Regions from separate parts of the Homo sapiens genome. Here region 2 is linked to region 1. The links are contacts of gene promoters, found by promoter capture Hi-C in blood cells and fetal thymus (Javierre and others, 2016). All regions are on one chromosome and are shown on one strand. Each heading gives the region's core, a stretch centred on a gene start or on the middle of the fragment in contact. The rest is flanking DNA. Distances are from core to core; before and after follow the strand shown. Region 1 holds the start of MON2 (MON2 regulator of endosome-to-Golgi trafficking). Region 2 holds the start of ATP23 (ATP23 metallopeptidase and ATP synthase assembly factor homolog).

Evidence for each region. The method cuts DNA at HindIII sites, captures the fragments that hold promoters and counts their contacts. A CHiCAGO score of 5 or more calls a contact.
Region 2: the fragment with the promoter of ATP23 here is called in contact with the fragment with the promoter of MON2 in region 1 in 9 of 17 cell types (M2 macrophages, non-activated CD4 T cells, total B cells and 6 more); the score reaches 11.7 in M2 macrophages.

The regions. Positions count from the first base shown.
Region 1 is chr12:62,464,919-62,468,971 of GRCh38, reverse strand. It overlaps MON2 (MON2 regulator of endosome-to-Golgi trafficking), which reads right to left and starts at 2,146. Exons shown (of 35, transcript NM_015026.3): 1 at 1,654-2,146. The coding sequence starts at 1,764. RefSeq lists enhancers at 1,490-1,989, 1,985-2,094 and a silencer at 2,125-2,444. The HindIII fragment of the contact is 1,301 bases long and covers 2,095-3,395 here.
Region 2 is chr12:57,939,590-57,943,642 of GRCh38, reverse strand. It overlaps ATP23 (ATP23 metallopeptidase and ATP synthase assembly factor homolog), which reads right to left and starts at 2,076. Exons shown (of 6, transcript NM_033276.4): 1 at 1,755-2,076. The coding sequence starts at 1,941. RefSeq lists enhancers at 772-941, 1,398-2,207. The HindIII fragment of the contact is 6,393 bases long and covers 1-4,053 here.

The DNA of each region.
Region 1 (4,053 bases), core at 897-3,396:
CCAAAATCAAAAAACAAAACAAAAAAATGTAATAAATGGCAATTAAATTCCCAAGCTAGACCACAACAGCCTATAGAGGAACCACAGTTTTTGTATGAATTATTAGAACTGCGAAGTCAGTTCTACAAATTATTGTTGAAATTACAAAATAGTGTTTGATATTTTCTAAATGAGAGCATTTCTCTTATAATTAAAACAACTTAATTCTTTAAAATTCTCTAAAACAGCCTAATTCTTTAGATTTACTTGTTATAACTTTCAACAGAGGATATAAAAAAAATGAAAATCAATATCAAAACAGACTATTGACTATGTGAAATAAAACATATCGTAACAGCCATCTTTCCAAAAGTGGCACATCTGGTTTCCATCACTGGGTAATACTTTATTAAAGAAATACAAGATGGAGTTTGTTGAAAACTGATAAAACCAATGCACTTACAGAAAAGTCAATATTCCTTACAAGCCTAAAATCCAAAATTTATTGGTCAAGTTCTAATTACATAATCTTCATAATAATAAAGATATATTTAAATAAGTATGTAAATATGAAATCCCTCGGTGAATTTTTAGGGCAAAGAGTAAATGAAATTGCAGGTAAAACAAACTACATTAAATAGGAATAAAAATAAAAACAGCCGGGCGCTGTGGCTCACGCCTGTAATCCCAGCACTTTGGGAGGCCGAGGCAGGGGGATCATCTGAAGTCGGGAGTTCGAGACCCGCCTGACCAACATGGAGAAACCCTGTTTCTACTAAAAATACAAAATTAGCCGGGCCTGTTTTTGGTGGGTTTTTTTGTTTGTTTTTTTTTTTTAGAGAATTAAAATGGCATTTTAAGAGAAAAAGCAAATAGTAACCAAATGTTAAATATTTCACCTCAAGAACTATTTGGAGAATTAAATTTCCATGTATTATTTACTGGGATCTCTTTAATAATACCCTTCTGCTCTGACATCTTTCCCATACATAATATAAAACCATCCTTTAACCCTATTTTACAGCTGGAAAAAAAAACCCGAAGCTCAAAGAGGTTAAGATTTATTGCTGGAACTAAATTCAGGTGTATTCGCTCTGACTGCAAGCCCAACTTCCCACTACAGTACTGCTCATAACAAGGTTTAACATGATTATGTGGATCTTCAATATTCTTCATAAATTAGGTGGCTCTGGATAGTTTATTAACACGTCAAAGGATTGATACAGAGTTAAGCTGAATGATATATACCAGAAGGAAAATTGTTTCCAATTCAGTGATATGCCATAAACGTGAGGAGTACAGGTTTCAACAAGATGGGTGGATACTCGTTTCGGGGAGCAACAAACAAGTTTTTCAATTTTGGTTTGGCCAGTTTCAAGTAAGAAAAAGGCCAGAATAGGCTAGTGCACAGTACACCTAGCTGGATTAACTGAATAGGCTCACTTCATGAACTTCACTCCTAAACTGGGAGGACAGGAGAGGGGAGAAAATCAAAGTGCCTCAGCCCTCTCCAGTGGAAACTATAAAAAGCCCTTGTGGAACAACCCACCGACTCACAAATCTGGAAAGGTGAGGCCTGAATGAAAATTAGGACTGGAAACTGGGGTGAAGCACTGAGTCTAACAGGACCAGGCATGCTCACAGTGCCTTCTCCTGACGTCACCTGAAGCTTACCTCTTTGACAGGTGGGAATTTCTTCTTGCACTCCAGTGACAAGGCGCGCAAGTCGCTCTGCATATTCTCCAGCAGCTTCTTCACCGCCTCGGGGCTGCTGGTGCCGGACATGATCCTCCAAGGTCCCAGCCAATTTCCGAGAGGTACAAACAAGCTCTGGCACGGTCAGCTCCTTAGGGCCACAGGCAGCTCCCTCCCGGTGTCTCTGGTCCTTCAGCAGCCCGCTTCTTGGGCCCTGGGCTGCGAACCCGGAGCCTGCTCGAGCGTCCCCCAGCAGCTTCCCCGCAACACCTCTGGCTTTTCTCGGAGGCGCCCCCCGCAGTCGCACCGTCCCGCTAGGCTCCGCCGACTCTGGCCGAGAAACCCACAAGGCGGGCAGGTCCCTCCGCTGCCGCGGGGCCCAGCCACACCGGGTGTCACCAGCCAACCTGGCAAGAAGCTTCAGCGCCAGCTCCCCAGGCCCCTAAGACTCGCCGACGCCATTAGCCGAGTCGCCCACAATTCCGAGCGCTGCCGGGACACGTCAGCCGCACTTCCGGGTACCGTGGCCTCCGCCACCGCCGCGGCCAACCCCGGCGGCAGGCCGTCGGCGGGGCGGGGCTGGGGCTTGGCCATGCTCGGGGCAGGCGGGATTCCGGGTGGGCAGCGATTCCCACAGCCCCACCCCCGGAATCAAGTAGGCTAGACAGGGTTTAAGGCGTCAAGATTCGCTTCGTTTTCATTAACAAGTGCCTGAACAGAGCCCCCGAGTACTCCTTGGCATATCTCTTTGCGTATGTTTGTGTTAAATTGTATTTCGGTGTAAATAATTTGTTTCCCTGTAGATTAATCTTAACGTGTCTCCTCCCGCTTCATTTCGAATCTCTGGACTAGTGGCCCCAAATCAGTGGCTACCTCCTGTTAATATACATTTTTTTTCTTTAAACGCAACTGGTGCACTTACTGTGGGGTAGCCTCTTATTTTCCTAATCTCTAAAATGAGACTACCCTCTGCTCCACGCATTCCGCTGGCCTCCCATCTCACTCAAAGTAAAAGCCAAAATTCCTCCAATCACCTACCAGGCGCTACGAGATCTGTCCCGGCCCCTTTACTGGCAGATGCTCCCAGCTAAAAGGAGAGTTTCGCGAGTTGGGCTGCCGGTTCTTCCTCTTTTTAAATCTTATTTTGTTTCCTGTGTATCTCCAGCACCTAGAACAGTGTCTGGCATATAGCAGGTAATCAGTACATACTTGTTGAATGAATACCCTTCTATTATAAAATCAGAGTTTCGAGGCTCAAATAAGGCACAGATACATAAAAGCCTTCATCAGGTCTGAAGTGCCAAATAAATATGAGGCAAAAGCCAAACAGAAAAATCTTCATCTGTATTTCCCCAAGATCCAGGTTGGTCTACTTTTTCCCCAAGACATTTTGCAGCTGCTGGTCAGAAAGCAGAAAATGAGGGAGGAAAAACCAGAAACAGTAGAGATGAAGAAACCAACACCTTCAGACAGCTGAGCTTATGACATGATGGAAGACAGTGAGCCATGAGATTGTCAGTGGATAGCGCTGTTTGGCTGTAACAGAGCTACTTTGTAAGCTAAATAATTTTATTTTATTTTTCCTTCTGATAAGAAGCAAAGCAAGGATGGATAAAGGGGACAGATGAGGTAATAGTAGAGAGCTCCTAGGGCAGTAATTTTGATCATTTGTGCCTATTACACAACTTCTGGGAAACTTGACACCTCCTATGGTATAAGCTTTATGTATGAAAACTGGTGAATTTAGCAAAAAAGTTCAAATGGAATATATGGCAGACATTATTCTTGAGGTCTCAGGGAGCTTGTAAAAACGAGGCGCTTTTTTTGGGTGGGGGGTGGAGACGGAGTCTCACTCTGTCACTCAGGCTGGAGTGCAGTGGCGCGATCTCCACTCACTGCAACCTCCACCTCCCAGGGTCAAGCAATTCTCCTGTCTCAGCCTCCCGAGTAGCTGGGACTACAGGCGTAGGCTGCCACGCCCGGCTAATTTTTTGTATTTTAGTAGAGATGGGGTTTCACTGTGTTGCCCAGGCTGGTCTCCAACTACTGAGCTCAGGCAATCCACCTGCCTTGGCCTCCCAAAGTGCTAGGATTACAAAGGCGTGAGCCACACCGCAGGCCTTTTTGTTTGTTTGTTTGTTGTTCTTTTTAGTAGAGATGGGGTTTCAGCATGTTGGCCAGGCTGATCTGGAACTCCAGAGTACAAGTGATCCACCCACCTCGACCTCCCGAAGTGCTGGGATTACAGGCATGAGCCACCACACCTGGCCAAAAATGATGCTTTAGTAATTGGGCTAGTGATATAGGATCAAATTCTCTGACTTTCACTATGTAGCCAACTTTTCTTTTGGATTTTTTACTATTGGTAACTTTGGCATG
Region 2 (4,053 bases), core at 827-3,326, 4.5 Mb after region 1:
GTGATGCAATAACAGCTCACTGCAGCCTCAGCCTCCTGGGTTCAAGCAAATCTCCTGCCTCAGCCTCCTAAATAGTTGGGACTGCAGGCATGAGCCACCACATCCAGCTAATTTTTTTTATTTTTTGTAGAGACAGGGTCTCCCTATATTACCCAGGCTGGTCTTAAACATCTGAGCTCAAGCAATCCCCCTGCCTTGGCTCCCCAAAGTGCTGAGATTACAGGCATGAGCCACCGTACCCAGCCCCATAAAATCTATTCTTCACAACAACCCTAAAAAAGGTATTTTCCCCTTCTCTTTTTTTACAATAAGGATAGTGAGGATCAGAGAAGTTAAGTCACCTTCCACACCTGAGGAAAGGGATCCGCATTTGAACCCACATCTAACTCTGCAACCCATACTCTTTCCACTCTATTCCACTTTGAAGCACCTTCAAGGCAGGGTGCTAACTCATCTTTCTACTTCCCCCACCAGAACCTGGGAGGCACTCAATACATATTTGTACAGTAAATACAATATCATCATTCTCTCCCCTTTTACCCTCAACTCCCCTTCCTCCTCCTACCTCCCTGAGTCTCTACAAGCAGGTAATCCCAAGAAGGTTGGAAAATCTTTCGGTGGTTGACTTTTGAACTGTGACTGACTAGCTATGAAATAGTAACCTTGCTTTGGGACAAGTATGTTTAAGACTAATTTTCTGAATGTATCTGAAAGTAAACTTAAGAAGTCTATGTCAATGTAAAGGAATTAAGAAATCTTCTCTAGTGCAATGTCTCTGGGACGGGAGAGAAATTTGTCAATGGGCAGTTGTGTCCCTGTTTAACCCACAGCAGTTCTTAACCTTTGTGGGGTCGTTGGCCTCTTTGAGAATATGATGAAGCTATTAACTCTCTCCCCCGACCAAAAAAAAATACACTTTGGGCCGGGCGCAGTGACTCACGCCTGTAATCCCAGCACTTTGGGAGGCCGAGGCAGGCAGATCACGAGGTCAGGAGATCAAGACCATCCTGGCTAACACGGTGAAAACCCGTCTCTACTAAAAATACAAAAAATTAGCAGGGTGTGGTGGCGAGCGCCTGTAGTCCCAGCTACTCGGGAGGCTGAGGCAGGAGAACGGCGTGAACCCAGTAGGCGGAGCTTGCAGTGAGCAAAGATCGCGCCACTGCACCCCAGCCTGGGCGACAGAGCGAGACTCCGTCTCAAAAAAAAAAAAAAAATGCACTTAGGGGCACACACACACACATACACACGATTTCACAGACCATTTCAGGGATTTCTACGCTCTGAAGCCCATTCATGCATGAACCACTTCCAAGGAACGGTAGGTTTGCAAAACTGCTTTTATATTTTTACAGCCTTGGTATGCCTTAATTACATTTTTACATTTTTACAGCCTTTGTGTGCCTTAATTAACCTGGCTGGCACTTTAAAACTTGGCCTCACCCTTACCCTGAAGTCACAGTGTGGCTGCATAACTTATGTAAGAAATCGGAGGATCTGTCACAACAGTGAGTGACAAAAAAGGGCAGACAAATTCATTCCACAAGCCAAAAACAGCGACGAAAAGGGTCTCAGCGCCACCTCTAGTGGGGAAACTGAGCCTCAGGCTCCCAACCCAGCCCCCATGATGCCCAGTCTGTCTAGACTCTGTGCTGAACCTGAAGCCCCTGGCCAGGTGTTGCCCAGGCCCTTCCTCGCCCACCCGGTCTCAGACCCATTCTGTGGAACCACAGCCTCCAGGTCATGGCTCCTACTTGTCTCCAGCGTCTTCAGGAGCCTAAGCTGGCACTTCTGGTTGCTGGTGAAGAAGCTGGAGAAGAACCCTTGCTGGGGATTCCCCTGGGCCAGACGCTCGGGGAAGACCTGGCAAGAGACGTGTTGCTGCTGCAGCTGCTCCCCTGCCGCGGGGCCCCGCCGGCGCTCGTCCGGAGCTCCCGCCATGCCTCCCGCAGACCTCGCCGCTGCTTCCTCCTGGCTCAGGCGGCCAGAGCGAGACTGGGAAAGGTAACCTCCCTCCCGCCAACGCGACCGCCCAGGCCCTCCCTCCGCAGGGAAGAAGGGCAGCCTGGCTGGGCTGAAGACGTTAGGCGGGAGGGGGCTTTGAACCTGACGGGGAGCGCGGGAGGCGGGGCGAGAGGCGAGGGGCGGGGCGAGAGGCGAGGGGCGGGGCGAGGGATGAGGGGCGGGGCGAGGGCATGGGGCGGGGCGCGGGGCCCGATGCTGTTGGGCGGAGCTGGGTCTTGCGACTTCCCTCAAAGGCTGTAACAACCCGGCTGCCGCGGATTTCGCTGCTGCCCTCCCAGTGTGGGTGACATGTCTTTATAAGCGTTGTTCTGCAGCTTCCTGCTGCCTGCTGAGCTCTAAGGGTGTCCCGCCTCCTCGCAGACACTCCTTCCTCACCTCGGGGCGAATATTGGCCACTAACTGCTCTTGTGCCGCCGAAGGTCTCGGCCATCCTCCCACTCCCTGCCTTCTTCCGGGGCAAGCCAGTTGTCATTTCTGGCCCGCCACTTTCCCGACCCCTGCCATCCCTCAGATCCACTCTGCCCAAAGATGCCTCTGGCCATATTGAAAGCAGTGTTTTTCAGAAACGTTTTAAAACTATAAAGAATGACTAGTCACATCAAAATCCTCAAAATGTAGGAACCAACTACATTTTTTCTTCCCACCTGTACCCATTCGTTTACCCTACTCTTCTGCCCCACCCCCCACCAATAACTCCCTGATAACAAAGCGCACCCTGTTTACTTCTACCTCTCAGCCTTAACTCATACTGTCATTTCCATCTTTAAGCTCCTTGCCTCAGCCCCTATGATTGGGGCCCAGGTCAAATCTGCCTACTCCACAGGGCATTCCCAGATACCTTAATCAAAATTAATGTCTCCTGATCTCCCAATGTACAAAGCACTTTGTACCTGTTAATCATTTTCATCGTAGCCTGCCAGGTTTTATCCAATTTGTGTGTTTCTCTTTTCCTACTAAATTATTCCACTCAGCTCACACATTTATTCAGCACCTACTATGATGGGCCAGGCAAGGTGTAAGAGACTGAGGAAACACATGACTAAGAAAATTGCTAAAGATGAAGAGCAGCATGTGGTTTATGTAAGAAACATATCTGAAAAATATAGGCTCAGCAGGCCTTTAGGGTTATGAACAGTGCTTTATGTGTCATAGATGCTCAATATCTAAATTGAGTGGGATGCTAGGATAGTCATTCATCTGGAATATTATAAAAATACAAACAACTCCTATGTACATAGACTATTAAAGCCAGAAGTCAAAAAAAAAGTAACTACTTTTTAATTAAATTCACCTTGGATACATTATTTCCAATCCTCACTACAACCCTGCAAAGTAAGTATTATCTCTAATTTGCAGATAAAGTGGGCTCAGCAAAATTCAATAATTTATCTAGGACCACACAACTAGCTTTCAATCCAGTTATTGAACTAAAACACACATATGGAAAACTAAGCCATTACAATTCAGTGTGATTAGTTTGGAATACTGAAGGCAGGCTAGATATGCCTAGAAATGGACCATAGCCTATATACATTTGAAATACTATTTGGATTTTTTTCATGCTTTCTTTTTTAATACATAGATTCAGGTGGTTTATGTGTAGGTTTATTATACAGATATATTGTGTAGTGGTGAGGTCTGGGCTTCTAGTGTACCCATCACCCAAACAGTGAACATTGTACCCAATAGTTAATTTTTCAACCCTCACCCTTCCCCTCCCACTCTCCCCACTTTTGGAGTCCCCAGTGTCTATTATTCCCCTCTGTATGTCCACGTGCACTCAGTCTTTAGCTTCCACTTATAAGTGAGAACATGGGGTGTTTGATTTTCTGCTTCTGAGTTATTTCACTTAGGATAATGGCCCCCAGCTCCATCCATGTTGCTGCAAAAGACATGATTTCATTATTTTTATGGCTGCATAGTATTCCGTGGTGTATGCATAACCACATTTTCTTTAACCATCTGTTGGTGGACACTTAGGTTAATGGTTGATTCTATGTCTTTGTCTTTTTGTCATAACAATTTCTT